7 separate regions of the Homo sapiens genome follow, and regions 2, 3, 4, 5, 6 and 7 are each linked to region 1. The links are contacts of gene promoters, found by promoter capture Hi-C in blood cells and fetal thymus (Javierre and others, 2016). All regions are on one chromosome and are shown on one strand. The core of a region is centred on a gene start or on the middle of the fragment in contact, and the rest is flanking DNA. Distances in the headings are between cores, read along the strand shown.

Region 1 (2,963 bases), core at 286-2,785:
ATTGTCTTGGTTCTCACTCCAGGGTTAGGGGCTGCCTGGTCAACACTGAGGTCTTTAACTGTGCTGAAGCATTAGGATAGAAATTTAGTCTAATAAATACTTACTGGATACCTACTACATGCAAAGTCCTGAAGTGGCTGAAGGAGACACAAAAGCAGCAAGCTCTGAAGGAACTTAGGTAAGGAAACAAGACAAATACAAAAACTTAACAGGGCTAATTACAGTACTAAAATACTATGATTCCACATGTCTTGTCCTTTGTTCCTATGTTTATCCCACTGCTAATTATCTTTAAAAAAACTAAATGAAATCCATCCATTATTTAAAGCTTCAGAAAAAAATGCATTGCTTTCAGCAACCTTCCACCCTAAAACTAGAATTAATTTACTTTCCTATTCCTTGTTGTTTGCACTTCTCAAACACTAAGGAGGATTTTTTAACATTTATTTTATTTTTTTTTAAGAGAAGGCCATCCGAAGAAGAGGCACAGATATAAGAACTAGTACATAGATGAAAGATACAGTACTGGGATGACAGAACTTATAAATTATTTTGTCAGGACTGTAAATTAGGAAACTCTTCAAATTGAGAGTCAAAGGATAAAACGTAGTAGGAATCAAAGTGCATTGGCACGTATATTTCTAGAGCATATACTTAGATGGGGTTCGTAGGTTAGCTTGGAACAAAGGACTGAGCAAATGTTACTTTTTTATAGACAACAACAAGATATGTGATGGATCTGACATTTTCAGACGCTATACAGTCTCCGTCACAATTATTGTTTCAGATCGCATTCAAGAATTATCTTTAAAAATGTAAGTTTGGGCAGAAAAAAATAAACCATTAAATGACCACTGCCAAGAGATAAAAGTGCACTCTTAGGTGAGTGAGGAGTCAATAAAAAAGAGTAATTTAAAAAATATTATTGCTCCGTTGAGAACAAGAATTTGGGAATGACTCTGGCTTGTGAATACTAGCCTATCTGTTATACTTTCACACACAAAATACTTTCACACACAAAAAAGAATGTGCTAGATTACTACCTGTCTTTGTAAGTAAAAGCTGTGTTAAACAAGCGTAAATCCTAATGACAAAAACCATATAAAATAAGATCGCTAAAGGCACTTCTAATTGGGATGGTTTTCTCTGCCTTAAACTCTGAATTAACCAGCACAATTCACAGTAAATCTTCCTGTTGGCAGCAGAGCCTTGGAGAAGAGGTAGCAGAAGAGCGTGCCACTCCTCCTCTGGCGATGGGCACGTTCCCCCTTGCTTTCTGGTCCTCGTTCTTCCACCTGGAGGGAACCTGAAGTCGAACGTCAGTAGCTGACAGCCTCCCCAGCACTTTCCTTACTCTTCTTCAAGCTGCCAGTAAAACCCGGAGAAGTGGACTACTTCAGATTCCGCACAACCCAACAGCCCCAAACCCAAAGCCCCGAGGCGGAGGGAGTGGTGGCGGAGAGGGGGTGGGGAGGAAAAGGGGCGGCAGTTACTGAGCATGTGCGAGGAGTGGCGCATGCTCTGTGAGGCCGGCAGCTTCCCATTGCGGGTAGCCCCGGCGGTGGTGGCGGTGGTAGCGGTGGTGGCGGCGGCAGTGGCGGCACCGCCTCCTCCTCACATTCCCGGGGTGGCGGGGTTAGATGAGCGGCCCCAGTAGCGGCGAGGGCGGCGCGGGGGGGAGGAGGAGAAGAAGGAGGAGGAGAAGGAGGTCGCTGTCTTTGTAGTCTCCCTGCTGCGGGAGCCAGAGGCCGCCGCCGGAGCCGTCGTCGTTGGAAAAGGGCTGTGTGTGCGCGCGCGTGTCTGCCCGCCCGGCCCGCGGGGACGAGGCGGCGGCGGCGGCGGCGGCGGCGAGGATGATGATGTGCGCAGCGACTGCCTCCCCCGCCGCCGCCTCCTCGGGGCTCGGCGGGGACGGATTCTACCCAGCCGCCACCTTCTCTTCCTCCCCGGCGCCGGGGGCGCTGTTCATGCCGGTTCCCGACGGCTCCGTGGCTGCTGCGGGGCTGGGGCTGGGGCTACCCGCCGCGGACTCCCGGGGTCACTACCAGCTGCTGCTGTCAGGCCGGGCCCTGGCCGACCGCTACCGGAGGATTTATACCGCTGCGCTCAATGACAGGGACCAGGGGGGCGGCAGCGCTGGACACCCAGCCTCCAGGTGCGTCCCCAGGGTGCCCTTCCTTGCGCCCCATGCCGCCCTTCCTTGCGCCCCATGCCGCGCGTGCACCCGCGTGTGTGTGTGCTTGCGTGTGTGTACCTGCGCATTTATTGAGCTTTCAGTCCGCTCTGGATGTCTGTTGGCAGGAGCACTTATCGAGATAGGAGGGTGCGGTGGCTGCAGTTTCTCGTGTGTGTGTGTGTGTGTGTGTGTGTGTGTGTGTGTGTGTGTGTCTGCCTGCCTATGTGGGGGGATAGTGAGGGGTGGTAGGGGAACCTGTGATGCTGGAAAAGGCGATGGTGCTGGTCGGCTGTGACACGTGTGTGTATCGTTGAGGTAGGAGGTGGCATGGGTAGAGAGGGTAAGAGGATGATACACGAAGAGAATTGCAACAGTGGCAAGGGAAGTGGCGTTTTCAGTGTCTCTGCCGCAATGTTATTTGCACGTGCCGCCTCTCCCATGACATTCCTTCCAGCCCTTTCCACCTCCCTTCAATCTGCCTTTCACCAAGAGGAGTCATGGTATAGATTGGTTGAGTTTTGGATAAGCAGGCCCGAGGGATAGGCGTGAGGTTTGCTTTAAAAAGATTTATGAATAAGGGACGCAGATGGAGATCTGTGTGGATGCGAAAGGTGTCTGATAGAGATTTTTAGAGCTGTACTTTGATAACCGGGCCTTTTGGTCTTCTAGAAATGAGGTTGCAGTTACTCTTGTGATCTGATGTCCCATCGGCCATTTCTCTTCATCCTCTGTTCGATTTCCTCTGTTACTTACAGGCTTTAGAGTAGAGAGGGTTTTGTAGGGAAAA
Region 2 (3,111 bases), core at 90-2,589, 290 kb after region 1:
ATTATTGTTTTGTCGTTGGGAGTGTAGCTAAGAGGCCATTTAAGCTGCCTTTTGAAGAATAAGTAGCATTTCAAGGAGCAGAGATGTGGAGAAAGGCATGAGAAATACCTAAGTAGGAAAATCTAGAATATGATCAAAGAACAGTAAGTATGAGTGTTCAAGCTTAGGATTGACTGAAAATGTTTCCAGAAAACACAAAGTACGTAGAGAGACTAAAGCTGTTACAAGAAAACTGGAGGGGAGAATGCAGTGAGGACACTGTCAGTATATTTGACTTGACACTGTCAGTATATTTGACTTAAATTCACAGGCCACAGGAATGAAACTAACCTTGAGAATGCCACACAGATAAGAGACTTTATGGACACTTAATAGCTGCGAAGAATACCATCTTGCGTCAGTTAACTTTGCTGGCAAACTGGTCAGCTCAGTTTGTAAATCGTAGAGGAAAAGAAACAAACTATTGAGATGGCTTGGCTAAAAAAGCCATCTCAAGTTATGAAAGGGATAAAATCAACAAAGCTGTGTAGTGAATACTCACAATGACTTCAACTTATCTTCATTTATGAGGAAGTCACTTTTAGTCAGGATCTCTAGCACCTCAAAACCAGAGAACATAAACATCTTAGCAATAAATTATGACAAAGCACAGGAAGGAGTGGCTTTGGCAGGCATTTTTAGCTCAAGCATCCTACACACAAGGACCATCCTTCAAACACTGCATGTAACATCCAAGGCAGGAGACAGAAAGCAGAATCACAGTGGTAGATGTCAGTGAATCTTCCTGGAAAGAAATTGTTTTTCCGTTATATTTTCAAGCCTAGGAAAAGCCATTTTTCTTAGTATTATGGCTAGACTGTTTAGGCCTAAAATCTCCCTATTTTATCAATAAGCTTATTTGGTTTTGGTTTTTGGTTTTTTGAGTTTTTTGGGTTTTTTTTTTTTTTTTTAAGAAAGGGTCTCACTCTGTCGCCCCAGCTGGAGTGCAGTGGCGTTATCTCGGCTCGCAGCAACCTCTGCCTTTTGGGCTCAAGTGATCCTCCCACCTCAGCCCCAAGTAGCTGGGAGTACAGGCACGAGCCACCATGCCCAGCTAATTTTTGTAATTGAAACAGGGTTTCACCATGTTGGCCAGGCTGGTCTCAAACTCCTGAGCTGAAGCGATCTACCTGCCTCAGCTAGGATTACAGGTGTGAGCCACCGCACCCAACCTCAATAAGCTTATTTGATAAAATATATGCAATGCTCCCTTTATTCACTTTTCATTCAGAATGTTTAGTAATTTGTATTGTTTTTCAGATTTTCAGCCCAATATATCTCCCTGCCCACTGTGTCACTGTATTCTACCTATACATCATCACGTGTTTCTGCTATTGGCTGTATGATGGAACACTGCGGCTCATTTTCCTGAAAACTGCCGATAGTGCATAGAGTGCTGGGATGGAAACCAGAAGCTTTGAATTCAAGCCTTGGTTCTGCCTTGTTTTTGCTTGGGTGGCCTTGAGTCAGCCACATACCTTTTAAAATCTCAATTTATTAGAAATTATTCCAAATCAAAATCAAATGAGAAGGTATATACAAAAGTGCTTTATCCCACAATAAACTATTCAAGAGAGAGCAAAGGAGAGGACATTTACTCAACACCTCCTAAAAGGCAGCCAGTGAAATTAGGCATTTTATTTAATCCTCCTGGCAACTCTGAGAGTAAAGCATTATTAATCCCATTTTGGCTGTTTAAAGAAATTATTTGCACTAGATTCCAGCTGTAGTTTAGCTTCAGAAAAAAAAATCCTGAGATGTGAATTCACAGCTTTCTGGGTTTAAAGCCCAAGCTCTATCACATCATGCTATTATTGTTACATTACTGCTAGTTCTATGAAAAGAAATACTAATTTATGAAATACATCTTATCCAAAATGGTTGGGACCAGAAGTGTTTCTGATTTCGGGTTTTTTCAGGTTTGGGAATATTTGCATTACCAGTTGAGCATCCCAAATCTGAAATCCAAAATGCTCCAGTGAGCATTTTATTTGGGTATCAGGCATGTCAGTACTCAAAGTTTTAAATTTCAGGACACTTATCGTATGGCCAAGGTTGCACAGGGGACAAGACAGCATATGCCTCCAAGAGTGTTCAGTGTCGTCAGGAGGTACCTCCACCCAGATTTCCCTTCAGGGGAGGCCCCACCTCAAGGAGTCCAGTTAGCTGACAGCCTCCAGCTTTAATCACCCCCACATATGACCCAATGTCACACTCCTCCAGGGCAGCCCCAGCCTGTGATAGAGTTCAGATGGGGTTCTCGGGCCTGGCCATTTCTGCCCAAGCGGCACTCCTGCGTGCGCGGTCTTGCGTAAGAACTCAGGCCGACTGAGACTGTCTTACAGCTGCCCTGCAGTCGGAGGCTTTTCCTACCCAATCTTTCCTTCTCTCTTCTTTCCTAGATGCCAGACCTGCATCACAGTCTAATGGCTCTCCCTGCCCACTCCTGCTCCCTCATCACTTTATCTTTCATAGGGATTACCCCCAACAGATTTTCTGCACTTCTAACTTAATCTTGGCATCTGCTTCCTAGAGGACCTGCCTGACACAGGAGGGTAATACATTTTAAATGACTTACTTATGGCTTCATTTCTCAAATGTCTTAGGGTGGCTTAGAAAAAAATAACAAGACTACAAAAAGATATACGCTGGAGGGAGTTACAGTGAAGAAAAATTATGAAAGAAAAAGCCAAGGTTAAAGATTAGTGTCTCGCTGTAACCATACAATGTTATCAAATTGCTCAAGAAAAGGCCATCAATTTTACAGTAAGTTTCTCCAGTAACAAGCAAGGTCAGAGATATCTTCATTTAAAACATACAATGTTCATCTGTTAATTTAAAAAAAAAAAGCCAACGCAGATAGTCTTTCAGGATAGATCAGTTTTGACAAGCAAAAGTGGGAAAGGGCATTCCAGGGAGAGATGATGGTGAGAACTGAGGCATTAACGTGTTCCTCAGAAGCACCAGGTAAGCTGTTTTGCTTCGTTAATTTAATAAATATTTGAACACCTGGTCTAGGTCCACACTTGACAGTACACTCTCATGAGGGTGTTTAGTAACCACGACTTCTAC
Region 3 (2,825 bases), core at 235-2,734, 390 kb before region 1:
TCAGGAGTTGGGTTATCTAGGACATGTCTACACCACTGCAAAGGAGTCAGGGATTTCTCTGATGAGGTGAACGTCTTTGAAGAGCCAATGTATAACCTTAAAAAAAGAAATCTACATTATAGGTATGATATAGGTATACAGAGAGTACCTCTCTCTGGGGAAAGCAACATGTATTTAACAATTTCCATAGAAACAGAACTCATATTTGATGACTTCAAAGTATCAGAAATAGTTTTTAACAGGCAAATATCCCCAAATAGAATATGACACTTCCTGTAGCCTGGTGAGAACTTCCAAAAAAAGGTCTAACAATTTTCCCCCTAACTGTGTGTTTCAGCATCAGAGATCAAGGGCTTTTTTTTTTTTTTTAACTAAACTAGCCCTAAAAAGGCACTATCATGATCTTACTATCTCTATTGACATGTCAAGAAATGAACATTTTCATCTTTCTCTTTGGCAACAGAATCTTTTGTAAACTTGGGCTAATGAAGGTAAACATGATGTGACAAACAAGGCAAATCTTATGTGTATTTTTTAAAAATAAGTCTAAACACCCGTAAAAGCCAGTCACTTGATTCTTTGAACCCTTACATAATCACATATTTCTCCTGTCTCAAATCTATACTAACCTTGGTATATGTTTCTTTTTCATTAAAGCCAAACAAAGAGCTTTAAAAGATATGTTTTACGAAGACTTCACTTTCAGCACCTACACAATTACACAGTAATGGATAGTATTCAAAATGACTACCCGGAGGCACTGCAAGTTATAAAAAAGCTTCTCTCATTAATATGCCATGTTAAGGTAGATTTTAGAATATTTTCAGTGATAGGGCTATACAGAAAGGTTTATCTTGAGGAATAAACAGCAGTTAACTAAAAAAGGGGGGAGGGTGAATTACCTCCCCAAAACTGCTGGCTCTAATACGTGACACCTTACTACTATAAGCTTACATTAATTACAAATCTAAAGTAATCTTCTTTCCAACAAAGCTACCACAATTCTAATAAGCACATATTCTTGAAATAACATACTTCATTATTCATACTTTCACTGTTCTAGACAAAACGTTCACCTATTAGAGTAATTTATCAGTTATACAAGATGGTTGGGGAATGTACTATTCTTCAGTAAATTATTCTTACAGATCAGGGATTGCCAAATGTTTTCTGTAAAGGACCGGCAAGTAAATATTTCAGGCTTTGTAAGCCACATGATCTCTGTCACAACTACTCAGCCCTGCCATTCCAGTCCAAAGGCATCCTAGACAATATGTAAGCGAATAAACGTGGCTGTGTTCCTTTAAAATTGATTTATAGACATTGAAAGTTGAATTTCCCATAGTTTTCACATTCTTTGTATTTTTTTTCATCATTTAAAAACATAAAACCGTATCTTACCCACCATACAAAACATGCAACGGCTCTGATTTGCCCTTGAGACAGTTTGTTCACTCCAGTTACAGGTAAGGACTCTAAAATATAGATCTCAATGGATTTAATTGTAAGTCCAATATATTTTTTTTTTTCCTTAGAGTGTGTTGCACAGTTGTGACTCCATCAAGAGTATATATAGTTAAAAATCATATTCTTGGGCCCCAGCTCAGTCCTACTATGGCAAGATTATCACCTACCTATGTAGGTAATAATCCCTTCCACTTCCTTGCAACATAGCCTAAACTGCCCAGTACACGGTACTTCTCCCTACTCACAAGTATAGGTTAGTCCAGGCTAGTTATTCTCAATGTCTCATGCCTCAAAATTACTTAAACATCTTGTTAAGACAAATTGCTAAACCACACCCCTTAAAAGTTTGATGCATAGGGTCAAAGAATCTGGATTTCTAAGCAGCTTCCAGGTGATGCTAATATTACCGGTCTGGAGACCACATCTTGAGAGGCACTCAGCTAAGCCAATCATGGTATTTTCATTGTTCCCCTTTGCCTGACTGGTTTAGGCCCACGCCCCAGACACAATCCTAGCCAACAGAAACTGAGAGAAAATCATCTGATAAGCTTGCGGACAAGTTTTTCCTTAAAGGGAGGTGGAAGTGTCACAAAAGACTCAATTATATGCTTCCTACAGGAAACGCACCTTAAACATGGGCAAACAAATAAGTTAAAAGTAAATAGCCAGAAAAGTAATCAAAAAATAAAAAATAAAAAACTACCCACAAAGAAAAACCTGGGCCCAGAAGACTTTACTGCTAAACTCTACCAAGTATTTAAAGAAAACATCAGTTCTTCACAAACTCTTCCGAAAAACAGAAGAGGAGGGAATACATCCTAATACATCCTATTAGGGCAGTGTTACCTTGACACCAAAATCAGACATTACAAATTAAGAAACTAACGGCCAATATCACACATGAACACAGATGTAAAAAGTCTAAATATTTCAGTAAATTGAGTCTAACTTCACCATTAGCATATTTCACCATTAATAAGTGGGGTTTATATCAGAAATAAAAAGTTGGTACAAATTCAAACATCAATATAACTTATCAGATTAACTAAAATAGAAAAAGTATATAATATCAATAGAAAAAAAAGGCATTTGACATCCACTCCTGATAAAAATTCTCATCAAATCGGAAACAGAAAGAAACATCCTCAACCTGATTGAAGGCATCTACAAAAACAGCATAGTTAATGGTAAAAGGCTGAATGCTTTGCCTGTGATATCAAACAGACACAGACATTGGCTCTCATCGCTTCTATTTAACACTCTGCTGAAGATCCTAGCCAATGCAATCAGGCATTACATTAAAAACATTTACATTGGAAAGAAACAAGTAAATCTGTCTTTATTCACAGATGACATGA
Region 4 (3,040 bases), core at 161-2,660, 360 kb before region 1:
CTCCCACTTATAAGTGAGAACATACAGTATCTGACTTTCTGTTTCTGAGTTGCTTCACTTAAGATAATGGCCTCCAGTTCCATCCATGTTGCAACAGAAGATATGATTTCATTCCTTTTTATGACTAAATACTATTTCATTGTATATATATATACCACATTTTAATTCAGTCTGTTGATGATGGACACTCAGGTTGATTCCATATATTTACTAGTGTGAATAGTACTGCAATAAACATGGGAGTGTTGGTATCTTTTTCATATAATGATTTCTTTCCTTTCAGTAGATACCTAGTAGGATTGCTGGACTGAATGGTAGTTCTATTTTTAATTCTCTGAGAAGTCTCCATAATGTTTTCTGTACAGATTTTACTAATTTACTTTCCACCAACTTTGTATAAGCATTCTGTTTTCTCTACATCCTTGCTGACATCTTTTATTTTTGACTTTTTAATGATAACCATTCTGATTGATGTAAGATAGTATCTCATTGTGATTTTAATTGGTATTTTTTTGATGATTAGTGATGTTAAGCATTTTTTTCATATGCTTATTGGTCATTTCTATGTCTTCTTTGGAAAATTGTCTATTCTCATCCTCTGTCCACTTTTTAATGGGGTTATTTTTATTGTTGTTGTTGAGTTTTTTGGGTTCCTTGTAAATTCTGGATAACAGTCCCCTGTTGGATGCATAATTTGCAAATATTTCCTCCCATTCTACAGGTTGTCTGTTCACTTGTTGAATATTTATTTTGCTGTGCAGAAGCTTTTAGTTTAATTAACTCGAGTTTGCCTATTTTTGCTTTAGTTACTTGTACTTCTTAGGTCTTAGTCATAAATTATTTGCCGAGACCAATGTCCAGAAGACTCTTTCCTTGGTTTTCTTCTAGTATTTTTATAATTTCAGGTCTTACATTGGAACCTTTGATCCATCTTGAGTTTGTTTTTGTATATAGTGAGAGATAGGGGTCCAGTTTCATTCTTCTGCATATAGCAATCCAATTTTCCCAGGACTATTTATCAAAAAGGCTATCTTTTCCCAGTGTGTATTCTTGTCAACTTTGTCAAAGATTAGCTGGCTCTAGATATGTGCATTTATTTCTAGGTTCTTGATTCTGTTCCATTGATCTATATGTTTGTTTTTATACCTGTACCATGCCATTTTGATTACTGTAACAATGTAGTATAATTTGAGTCAGGTATGTGATGCCTCCAGCTTTGTTCTTTTTGCTCAGGATTGCTTTGATTTTATTCAAGCTCTTTTTTGGTTCTATATGAATGTTAGGATATCTTTTCCTAATTCTGTGAAAAATGATGATATTTTAACAGGGATTGCATTGAATCTGTAGATTGCTCTCTGCAGTATGGATATTTTAACAATATTAATTCTTCCAATCTATGAGCATGGGATGTTTCTCCATTTGCTTGTGTCATCCACAATTTCTTTCATCAGTAGATTCCCTTGTAGAGATCAATTGCCTCCTTGGTTAAATATATTCCTTTTTTTTTGTAGTTATTCAAAATGGAATTGCTCATTTGGTTTCTCAGCTTGATCATTATTGGTGTGTAGAAATGCTACTCATTATTGGTGTGTAGAAATGTGTATAGAGTTTTGTACATTGACTTTTTATCCTGAAATTTTACTGAATTCATTTATCAAATCTAAGAGTTTTTTGGTAAAGTCTTAAGGTTTCTTAGATATAAGATTATATCATCAGAGAAAAGAGATAACTTCACTTCCTCTTTTCTTATTTGAATGCCTTTTATTTATTTCTCTTGCCTGATTGCTCTGGCTCAGACTTCTAGTACTATGTTAAATAGGAGTGGTAAAAGTGGGCATGCTTGTCTTGTTATAGTTCTTAGGGGTAATGCTTTCAACTTTTCCCTATTGATTATGATGTTAGCTGTGGGTTTGTCATATATGGCCTTTATTATTTTGAGGAGTGTTCCTTCTATGCCTAGTTTGTTGAGGGTTTTTAGTCATGAAATTTGGTGTCAAAATGATACCAAATTTTATCAAATGCTTTTTCTGCACCTATTGAGGTGATCATAAGCTTTTTGTCCTTAATTCTGTTTATGGGATGAATCACATTTATTGATTTGTGTATGTTGAACCATTCTTGCATCCCTAGAATAAGCCCTTTCTGACCATGGTGTATTGTCTTTTGATGTACTGTTGGATTCAGTTAGCTAGTATTTTGCTGAGGATTTTTGCATCTGTGTTCATCAGGGATATTGGTCTATAGTTTTCTTTTTCTGTTATATCCTTCTCTGGCTTTGGCGTCAGGATGATACTGGCTTCATAGAATGAGTTAGGGAGTTTAGTGCTATAAATTTCCCTCTACACACTGCTTTGAATGCGTCCCAGAGATTCTGGTATGTTGTGTCTTTGTTCTTGTTGGTTTCAAAGAACATCTTTATTTCTGCCTTCATTTCATTATGTACCCAGTAGTCATTCAGGAGCAGGTTGTTCAGTTTCCATGTAGTTGAGCGGTTTTGAGTGAGATTCTTAATCCTGAGATCTAGTTTGATTGCACTGTGGTCTGAGAGATAGTTTGTTATAATTTCTGTTCTTTTACATTTGCTGAGGAGAGCTTTACTTCCAAGTATGTGGTCAATTTTGGAATAGGTGTGATGTGGTGCTGAAAAAAATGTATATTCTGTTGATTTGGGGTGGAGAGTTCTGTAGATGTCTATTAGGTCCGCTTGGTGCAGAGCTGAGTTCAATTCCTGGGTATCCTTGTTGACTTTCTATCTCGTTGATCTGTCTAATGTCGACAGTGGGGTGTTAAAGTCTCCCACTATTAATGTGTGGGAGTCTAAGTCTCTTTGTAGGTCACTCAGGACTTGCTTTATGAATCTGGGTGCTCCTGTATTGGGTGCATATATATTTAGGATAGTTAGCTCTTCTTGTTGAATTGATCCCTTTACCATTATGTAATGGCCTTCTTTGTCTCTTTTGATCTTTGTTGGTTTAAAGTCTGTTTTATCAGAGACTAGGATTGCAACCCCTGCCTTTTTTTGTTTTCCATTTGCTTGGTA
Region 5 (3,078 bases), core at 404-2,903, 260 kb before region 1:
TGGTTAGGAGAAGAAACAGGAGAACTGGGCTTTGGAGGTATTGGAGGGTGAACACCTGGTTCCCTTTAAAACAGAAAACAGCAGTTCATTTCACCATGGAAACATGGTAAATTTTAGCATCTATTAACTGAATGCATTTATTGCCTACATAAAAATATCCTTTGCATCTTACAACCCCCATGTGTGAGGTACCTGAAAGGTCAGAATCCATGGAGCACTAAACTTTAAAGAAGTCAAATATTGAAAATATGTGTATTTTTAAAGTTTATTTAATCAGGTTCTTGAAAACCCAATCCTCTTTCACTATAGTTTGGACTATACTATGTTCTTTAAATAACTCAATATTTTGCTAGTATATCTAGCTCTAGTCATGGCATTTCAGGTCAGCAGTGCATGAGAACTGTAAATGGTCCTTGGGTATTAATATATAAGCTTCTTTGGGGATTATGTCAACTATCAGGCTGCTATGGAAACAGCAAGAAAAGGCTTTAATTTCAGAGACCTCAAGGTAGCATTGATTTGAAGCTCTTAACTAAATCTGACTTAAATATTGTCAGCACAGGCCACTTTGATGCTGACAAAGCATATATACAATCTACCGTCAGCCTAAACTTTCCAATGAAGCACCACAGCAGTCTCTGAGTTGGCAGGACTTAATGAGGTAGGAACTGGAGATGGGCAATTATGTGCACATTTTGGATGGAGTCAGCACCTTACTAAGAGTATGTCACTCCCCTGTGTTCCCCACCACTACCACCCCAGCAGTTCTCTATTTGTCCTCAACATAAACTCTGTACCTGGTAAAAGAACCCTCTGATCCTGTGTACCCTTCTGGCTTCTGTAGCAATGGTAGATAGGCATGTGGGCTAGAGTCAGGCTGCCTGAATTGCCAGCTGTGTGGTAACAGGTTAACTTGATTCTGTTTCTTCATCTGTAATAATCTTTCTAATAGGATTGTTGGGGTATTGTCAGGACTGAATGAGATTGTGTTTTTACTCAACAAACATTTATTGGTAGCTTTCTATGTGCAAGGAAGGCTCTCTGTGAGCTGGGTAATGTCCTTGTTCTCAAAGGCTTTCAATATACAAATAAATATATGTCAGAAGAAGAAAAGTGCTGTGCAAATAATAATAATAATAAAACAGAATAAGGAGATATAGACTGATGGAATGGGAAGATTATTTTATTTAGAATGGACTGGGAAGGTCTCTCTGTCAGGTGAAATTTGAACCAAGACCTGCAGGAAGTAATAGAGTAAGCCATGAGGCTATCTGGAGAAAAAGCATATAAATACAGCCATCATTAGCTTAGAGATGGTATTTAATGCTTTAAACTGGCAGAGATCACTAAGGGAGTCAGTGTAAGTAGAGACAAAAAGAGGGCCAGGGGTTGGACCTTCAGGCCCTGCAATATTTAGAGGTCAAGAATATGAGATGAAAACAGCAAAAGAATCAGGAGGAGTGGCCAAGAAGGAAACAAGAGTAATAGAAGGGCGTGGCATCCCAGAAGCCAAGCGAGAAAAGTTTCAAGGAAAGAGTACTTGGCCATTTCAGATGCTACTGTTAATCAAATAAAAACAAGGACTGGGAAATTACCATGGTTTGGCCAACAGAGTGGTCTTTGGTCACCCTGATAAGAGCAGTTTTGATGGAACGATGGTGGGAAAAGAAAAAAAAATCATACGAGTGGATTTAGGAAAAAATGGGGAAGCAAGGAGATAGAGGCATTGAGGCAGTTTGGCAGTAAAGTAGGAAGACAGAAATGGGTAGCTACTTCGAGGCTGATGGATCGAGGAAGGTTACTACAGCATGTAGGTATGATGATGGGAATGATCCAGTGAATCATTGATGCAGGAGAGAGAGGGGGAAATCACTAGACAGATGACTTTGAGAATTGATGGGACCTAAGGCACAGGGTGGTGGTTGATCTTAGATGGAAGTACAGAGGGCTCATTCACAGCAGCAAGAGGGAAAGAACTAGATGAGTATAGCTGGGGTACGTTCATTGACTCAGAGTGAGGAAGGTTCTCTTTTGTTTACTTCTATTTTCTCAGTAAAATAACAATCAAGATCATTGATTCAAAGTGAGGAGGTTGAGTAGGGATTAGGACTGTGTGAGAAAGAAAGAGGCGGAGAAAATGTGTGAAATGGTTTTCTAGGCAAGCAGAAGAGTAAGTGGACCCAGGAAACGTAGTAAGATGGTGATGATGATGATGTACTATTATATGGGGTCATTATGTGCCAGAAACTTTTCTAAGCACTTTACATATATTAACTAATGAAATCCTCACTGCAATCCCAGACATAAGTATTATTCTTCTTCCCATTTTACAGATTAAAACACTGAAGCACAGAACATAAAGATAAATATCTCATGATGATGCAGCTCATAAGGGGCAGAGCTGGGAATCTGAAAGGGAAAGTCTGGCTGCATAAACCCTCCAAATGCTGTGCTGTCTCTTGAAGGATCCTTGGGCCATACCAATGGCTCAGTTGAGGTTAGTACTCATGGGCTTAAAATCAGGTTATTTGGCATTGTTTCCTCTTGCCATATTCAACTGGTTGGGGAGGAGGAACAGAATAGACTGAGAGTTGGATTTACCATTAGCCACGTTTACAATTCAGCCAAGTGAGTGCAACAAAGAGAATGATGGCAAGGGAGTGGAAGGGGTCTTCAAGGAAGGGGTTACAATGGGGGCTGTGGAGTTTGAGATGGGCATGGAGGGAAATGAGAATATGAGTAGTGGGGACTGTGAAAAAACTGGTAGAATTAATGGACTGGTGATTGTGATGGGGCTGAGGAATTCCTGGAATCAAAGGACTGAAGGGAGTGAGCTGGACAGAGAGAAAGCGGGAGCCAGAGAGGGAAAGCTTTGAAGTAGAAGTCTTGTAATTTTGTAGGGTATGTGGTTATTTACAGGGCAAGATCTATCAATGGCTGCAGTAGTGGGAAGAACAAGATCATCGGGGAGAAGGTCACAAAGGTGAGTGGTCGGGGAGGGGAAGGATCCTCTGCATGGATTTTGAAATCACCAAGCATTATGACAAGAGGAGGGTTTGGGAAAGACAGTGAGCGTGG
Region 6 (2,922 bases), core at 1-2,500, 410 kb before region 1:
TAATGAAAATTTATTTTGAGTTTCTACGTTAGAAATGTTTTCAATTTTCTATTTCCACATAAGGATTTAGTGTTTTGCAATATAAAAAAGGATTAGTGTCAAAAGAAAAACTCAAGTTTATAATCTTCCTAATCTTTAGGAATTAAGGGAAATGTTCTTAATATTAACTATATGTAATTCTATATTTTTTCTACTCAGTTAATATCAGAAAATGTTGATAAAAAACATTTTATGTAAATTCAGTATTGGATTATGGGAGGACTTAGAATGACTATTGTGTTTCCAAATGGCCTTGAGACCAAAACAAGGTTTAAAGGAAAAACAGTGTACAGAGTAACAGAGGGGTGTCTATACCAGAGCTTAACAATGACTATCCGGTACAGAGACTATTGGTGATCACTCGGATTTTTTCTTTAAAAAAAACTTCCAAATTATCTGCATTAAACATACATATTATTTATATAACTAGCTTTTCAAGGTAGGAATATACATGTTATTACTTTAATATTATTTTTTAAATTAATATAATGAACAAAAAGGAATTACACCAGCCATGGGCAGATGATCTCATTCTTACATTACCTCACTTGTCTAATTAATGTACTTCTCCCCTCCAAAATTACCACCCCTTGTATCTCCATGTTCTTGGGGTCACACACACACACACACACAAATCCCAAATCATAAAAGCTTAAGTCACACCAAACATGATTTACTCTCCTCTCATGAGATACAAATCAATGCGCTAAGCAAAATTCACTTTTCTGAAAAGTAATCATTTAGACATGTACTAAGCAGAAGGAATAATATAAAAAATATAAACAAGGCTAAACTTCAAGAAATAACTTGGTTTGTATTCACTGGGAATTTGACAAAACTTGAAAAACCAAGTATTAAAAGGACTGCTTTGAAATGCATGCCCCCAGACCACTTTTAATGAGCAATGCTAATGAGCAATCAGACAGCTGAAAAGTGCTTTAAAATGGGCAGTGGGATGGAGAGAAAAAAAAAAAACTGTGGGATGTGGACAGTCAAGAAAATAATCAGCTCCAAACTGGGATTCTTCAGATCCTTGCAAAACACCAAGTTTACTTAAAAAAAAAAAAAAAAAAATTCCTTTTACTTCAGAATCATTACGTACCAACACATTCTAACAATTACATTAAAAATATCTTTTCCTTAAGTATGTGGAAGAACTAGGCAAGGAAACCACATTCGCAATGACAACACTTTCAGAATCCACACATTTCATGAAACTGTGAAGCCTGGTTGCCAATTGACACCAGTCGTATATGTCACTTATCCAACCCGTAACTTACAGTGGTTAAGCAGCTTTTCCCAATCGGAGCCAGAACACAGACATGCACTTCCAGTTCCTTCTCTTCTATGTAGGTCAACTTGACTCCAGAATACACTACAAACTAGGGGTTAATAATGCAACACACACTAGGTAGCTGTTCTCACATGTTCAATCTCTATTATTCAAAGTTTCTCATTAAAAATTCTATATTTTAAAAGACCAATAGTTCTTTGTGACTGCTATCTTGCCTAACAGATGATGTTATTTTATACCAGTCTGATCACTTGCCAGGCAAATTACAGTAACTGCGTGTTCTCACCCACAGATGCGGGCGGCAGCACATCACAAGTAAGCAGCATTCATCACTCTGCACAATAACCACTGTGACCCAGCCTCCCTGCACAATTGACACAGTTATTGTGGCTATGACAGCAAGATCCCAACTAGGAACACAATTAGCGTCTATTGCAAGAAAGAATGCTCTACATTGTTGTTTAGCATTGAAGCTTTTCAGAAAGGGGAGGAAAATTATTGTAAAGGCAGGCTAACAAAACAATAATGCTCCACTAGTGCCCAAGGTTACAGTGGAGGAGGAGGAGGACAGGAGTGGAAGCTATCACATCCTAGTTGTTCTTCAGTACATAGCTAAAGAATTGTAACAGGAAGCACTTTTATAAAGAATAAAACAAACAAAAAGAACTTGTAAAAAAGAGCAATTTTATCTTTTTCAACCAATTATCTCAGTGGATTTTTGGTATATAAAATGATGTGAAATGATTCAAGAGGCTCAGTGATGACCGAAATAGCTCTAAAGAAAGGAGTGAGGCAATTTTGCCAAAAGAGAAAAAATGGGTGATCCATTTTTGAACAACAGTTAAATTTCCCTATACTCCTACTCCAGAGTTCTATTTATAAAAAAAGGGGGGGGGGGCGGTTCGCAAACTTGGAAGTGGCATAGACTATGCATTTTTTCATTTTATTCCAATCCCTAGAATAGCATCGAACTGGCCCCAAACAGGACTACACACTGAATCAATGTACGATACTTGGCACAGTTTTCTTTCCCAAATGCCTTAAGCTAAACTGCCTCCCAGGACACTTCTTTCTGCATAATCTCTGTAGTTCTACCGCAACTTCCTTAACCACTCACCACCTCTCACCAGATTACTGCAACCTGCTCTTCAACAAACTTCCAGCCACCAACACTGCCCTGAGCAAACCTGTTCTGAATGTCATGTATTTTAACTGTGTTACTCTCATCAATTAAAGTACCGCAGGGGCTTTTCATCAAATGCAAGACCTTAAAGGTACTTCAGCTCATTTCACTACCACCCTTACAGACTGTCATTTATCTCATGCCCACCTCTACAGTGTCTCTGAAGCTACCCTAAGGATGCACCCTTATTGGTTAAACTTTATACTTCACCTCCCTTGTCTGACAATCATCTTCTACTGAATGAATGTGATAAAGTACTAAATTGTAGACTGATACCTCATTTTTTTTCAAAAATATAAGTTGAGGGTGACTAACGGTCTCTTATTTTTTGTACATTTTCAAAGTTGCTTGACTGAAAAGATAAGTTATAACACATCTGTGTAGTTATTTTTGTATACCATTAAGC
Region 7 (2,999 bases), core at 292-2,791, 430 kb before region 1:
AGAGTACTTATAGAAGAGAAAGAAATAAAGGGCATCCAAATTGGAAAAGAGGATGTCAAACTGTCACTGTTTACCAATAATATGATTAGATACCTAGAAAACCCTGAAGATTCATCCAAAAAGCTCCTAGATCTGATAAATGGATTCAGTAAAGTCTCAGGATACAAAATCAATGTACACAAATCAGTAGCACTGCTGTATACCAACAACAACCAAGCTGAAAATTAAATCAGGAACTCAATCCCTTTTACAACATCTATAAAAAATAAAATAAAATACTTAGAAATATACTTAACCAAGGAGGTGAAAAATCTTACAAGGAAAACTACAAAACACTGTTGAAAGAAATCACAAATGACACAAACAAAACACATCCCATGCTCATGAAATGGAAGAATCAATACTGTGAAAATGACCATACTGCCCAAAGCAATCTACAGATTCAATGCAATTCTATCAAAATACCATCATCATTCTTCACAGAACTAGAAAAAACAATCCAAACAATCCTAAAATTCATATGGAACCAAAAAACGGCCCACATAGCCAAAGCAAGACTAAGCAAAAAGAACAAGTCTAGAGGTACCACATTAACTGACTTCAAATTATACTACAAGGCTATAGTTACCAAAACAGCATGGTACTGCTATAAAAATAGGCATATCGACCAATTGAACAGAATAGAGAACCCAGAAATAAACCCTAATACTTACAGCCAACTGATCTTCAATAAAGCATACAAAAACATAAATTGGGGAAAGGACACCCTATTCAGTAAATGGTGCTGGGAAAACTGGCAAGCCACATGTAGAAGAATGAAACTGAATACCTACCTCTCACCTTATACAAAAATCAACTCAAAATGGATCAAAGACTTAAATATAAGACCTGAAGCCATAAAAATTCTAGAAGATAATATTGGAAAAATTATTCTGGACATTGGCTTAGACAAAGAAATCATGACTAAAATCCCAAAAGCAAAGGCAACTCAAACAAAAATAAATAAATGGGACCTAATTAAACTACAAAGCTTCTGCACACCAAAATAAATAATCAGTGAGTAAACAGATAACTCAGAGTAGAAAAAAATATCTGCAAACTATGCATCTGATAAAGGACTAATAGCTAGAATCTACAAGGAACTCAAATAAATCAACAAGAAAAAAAACAACTAATCCCATCAAAAAGTGGGCAAAGAGCATGAATTGACATTTCTCAAAAAAAGATACACAGCCAACAGACAAATGAAAAAATGTTCAACATCACTAATCATTAGGGAAATGCAAATTAAAACCACAATGAGATACCACCTTACCCTGCAAGAATGGCCATAATTAAAAAGTCAAAAACAATAGATTCGGTGTGGATGTGGCAAAAAGGGAACACTTTTACACTGCTGGTGGGAGTGTAAATTAGTAGACCCACTATGGAAAACAGTATGAAGATTCCTTAAAGAACTAAAAGTAGAATTACCATTTGATCCAGCAATCCCACTACTGGGTATCTACCCAAAGGAAAAGATGTCATTATTTGAAAAAAAGACACATTCATACGCATGTTTATAGCAACAGCATTTGCAATGGCTTAGATATAGAACCAACCTAAGTGCCCATCAACCAACGGGTGGATAAAGAACTGTGGTATATATACACCAAGGAATACTACTCACCCATAAAAAGAAACAAATTAATATTTTGCAGCAACTTTGATGGAACCAGAGGCCATTATTCTAAGTGAAATAACTCAGGAGTGGAAAAGTAAATATCGTATGTTCTCTCATGTAAGTGGGAGCTTAGCTATGAGGATGTAAAGGCATAAGAATGAGATAATGGACTCTGGGGACTTGTGGGGAAGTCTGGGAGGGTGGTGAGGGATAAAAACTACATATTGGGTACAGTGTACACTGCTTCGGTAACAGGTGCACCAAAATCTCAGAAATCACCACTAAATAACTTATCCATGTAACCAAAAACCAGCTATACCCCAAAAACTATTGAAATAAGAAAAAAAAAAAGAAATGTTGATACATGTGTATAGTAGTCAAAAAGCTTTATAAAAATAAAGTCTATGTAAGATCCTCCCTTAGGTGTGTTCCCATTTAGCTTTGTGACACAGCAAAGTCCTCTTGGTTGACGAATCATCTCTAAGATTCTTTCTAATCAATTCTGTAATGCCTTAATTTGCTAGTTTTTAACCATGCAAATATTTAATATACTAGTTCAGCAACTGTAACAAGTCTACTGCACTAACACAAGATGTTAATAATAGGGGAAACTAGGAAGATACAGAGGGTGAGGGATTACATGGGAATTCTTTGTACTTCCTGTTCAATTTTTCTATAAACTGAAAACTGCTCCAAAAAAGTGTTAATTTTTTAAAAACCTTCAACACATGAATTTGGCTCAATTTCTTCTGAAGCATAATATACATAAAATACATACATCTTAAGTCTACAGCTCAGTGAATTTTCAAAGTGCATATGTTCATGTAACCACTAATCATATCAAGATAAAAAGCATCACCAGCACCTTACAATGCTCTCTCATGCCTCTTCCTAGTCAAAACTCCCCCAAAGGTAAGTGTTATTCCCACTTTTATCACAACAGACTGTTTTTCCCTATTTTGAGCTTCCTAGGAATAGACTTATTAGTATGTTAACCTTTTAATCTGGCTTCTTTCACTCGACACTTTGTCTGTGAGATTCACCTGTGTTGCTGTATTACTAAGCAGTATTCCATTGTATAAATGTGATTATTCCCCTGATGACAGAAAGCTAGGTTATTTCTAATTTGGGGTTTTATGAACCTCCTTGAACATGTTTTGGTGATCATATGCACTCATTATGTTGGGTAACTATTAGGAGATATTAATTTAGCAAAGTTGCTGGATTCAATATCAAAACACAAAAATCAATTATATTCAAAATACCAGCAAACTAGTAGAAACTGAAAGAAACCTGAGGAAATACTATTTATAAAAATACTACTTATTAAAAATCA

Evidence for each region. Contacts are between HindIII fragments. The CHiCAGO score rates a contact against its expected background, and 5 or more counts as called.
Region 2: a contact is called between a fragment that was not itself captured here and the fragment with the promoter of MYCBP2 in region 1, in 10 of 17 cell types (fetal thymus, non-activated CD4 T cells, naive B cells and 7 more). The highest score is 9.2, in fetal thymus.
Region 3: a contact is called between a fragment that was not itself captured here and the fragment with the promoter of MYCBP2 in region 1, in 7 of 17 cell types (naive CD8 T cells, naive B cells, total CD8 T cells and 4 more). The highest score is 12.0, in naive CD8 T cells.
Region 4: a fragment that was not itself captured here is called in contact with the fragment with the promoter of MYCBP2 in region 1 in 2 of 17 cell types (total CD8 T cells and naive CD8 T cells); the score reaches 6.0 in total CD8 T cells.
Region 5: a contact is called between a fragment that was not itself captured here and the fragment with the promoter of MYCBP2 in region 1, in 1 of 17 cell types (naive B cells). The highest score is 5.1, in naive B cells.
Region 6: a contact is called between a fragment that was not itself captured here and the fragment with the promoter of MYCBP2 in region 1, in 7 of 17 cell types (naive CD8 T cells, naive CD4 T cells, naive B cells and 4 more). The highest score is 10.3, in naive CD8 T cells.
Region 7: a fragment that was not itself captured here is called in contact with the fragment with the promoter of MYCBP2 in region 1 in 1 of 17 cell types (naive CD8 T cells); the score reaches 5.3 in naive CD8 T cells.

What each region holds. Positions count from the first base shown.
Region 1 is chr13:77,325,666-77,328,628 of GRCh38, reverse strand. MYCBP2 (MYC binding protein 2) reads left to right here and starts at 1,535. Exons shown (of 83, transcript NM_015057.5): 1 at 1,535-2,155. The coding sequence starts at 1,854. LOC127898562 reads left to right here and starts at 1,641. Exons shown (of 1, transcript NM_001414702.1): 1 at 1,641-1,724. The coding sequence starts at 1,641. The coding sequence ends at 1,724. It overlaps LOC107984564 (a long non-coding RNA gene), which reads right to left and starts at 1,584. Exons shown (of 2, transcript XR_001749930.2): 1 at 1,494-1,584; 2 at 431-1,365. RefSeq lists an enhancer at 1,056-1,385 and silencers at 1,576-1,955, 1,996-2,115. The HindIII fragment of the contact is 13,146 bases long and covers 331-2,963 here.
Region 2 is chr13:77,040,262-77,043,372 of GRCh38, reverse strand. No RefSeq gene overlaps it. Among named protein-coding and RNA genes, the nearest start is that of FBXL3, 15 kb to the right of the region's middle. The HindIII fragment of the contact is 234 bases long and covers 1,223-1,456 here.
Region 3 is chr13:77,716,803-77,719,627 of GRCh38, reverse strand. It overlaps SLAIN1 (SLAIN motif family member 1), which reads right to left. Exons shown (of 7, transcript NM_001242868.2): 2 at 1-96. Among named protein-coding and RNA genes, the nearest start is that of MIR3665, 20 kb to the right of the region's middle. The HindIII fragment of the contact is 1,066 bases long and covers 952-2,017 here.
Region 4 is chr13:77,685,691-77,688,730 of GRCh38, reverse strand. No RefSeq gene overlaps it. Among named protein-coding and RNA genes, the nearest start is that of SLAIN1, 10 kb to the left of the region's middle. The HindIII fragment of the contact is 1,288 bases long and covers 767-2,054 here.
Region 5 is chr13:77,586,129-77,589,206 of GRCh38, reverse strand. It overlaps SCEL (sciellin), which reads right to left. Exons shown (of 33, transcript NM_144777.3): 10 at 1-63. Among named protein-coding and RNA genes, the nearest start is that of SCEL-AS1, 19 kb to the left of the region's middle. The HindIII fragment of the contact is 2,438 bases long and covers 435-2,872 here.
Region 6 is chr13:77,739,838-77,742,759 of GRCh38, reverse strand. All of the region lies in intron 2 of SLAIN1 (SLAIN motif family member 1), which reads right to left. Among named protein-coding and RNA genes, the nearest start is that of MIR3665, 43 kb to the right of the region's middle. The HindIII fragment of the contact is 1,116 bases long and covers 693-1,808 here.
Region 7 is chr13:77,756,448-77,759,446 of GRCh38, reverse strand. The region is part of intron 5 of SLAIN1 (SLAIN motif family member 1); the gene reads right to left. Among named protein-coding and RNA genes, the nearest start is that of MIR3665, 60 kb to the right of the region's middle. The HindIII fragment of the contact is 1,018 bases long and covers 1,033-2,050 here.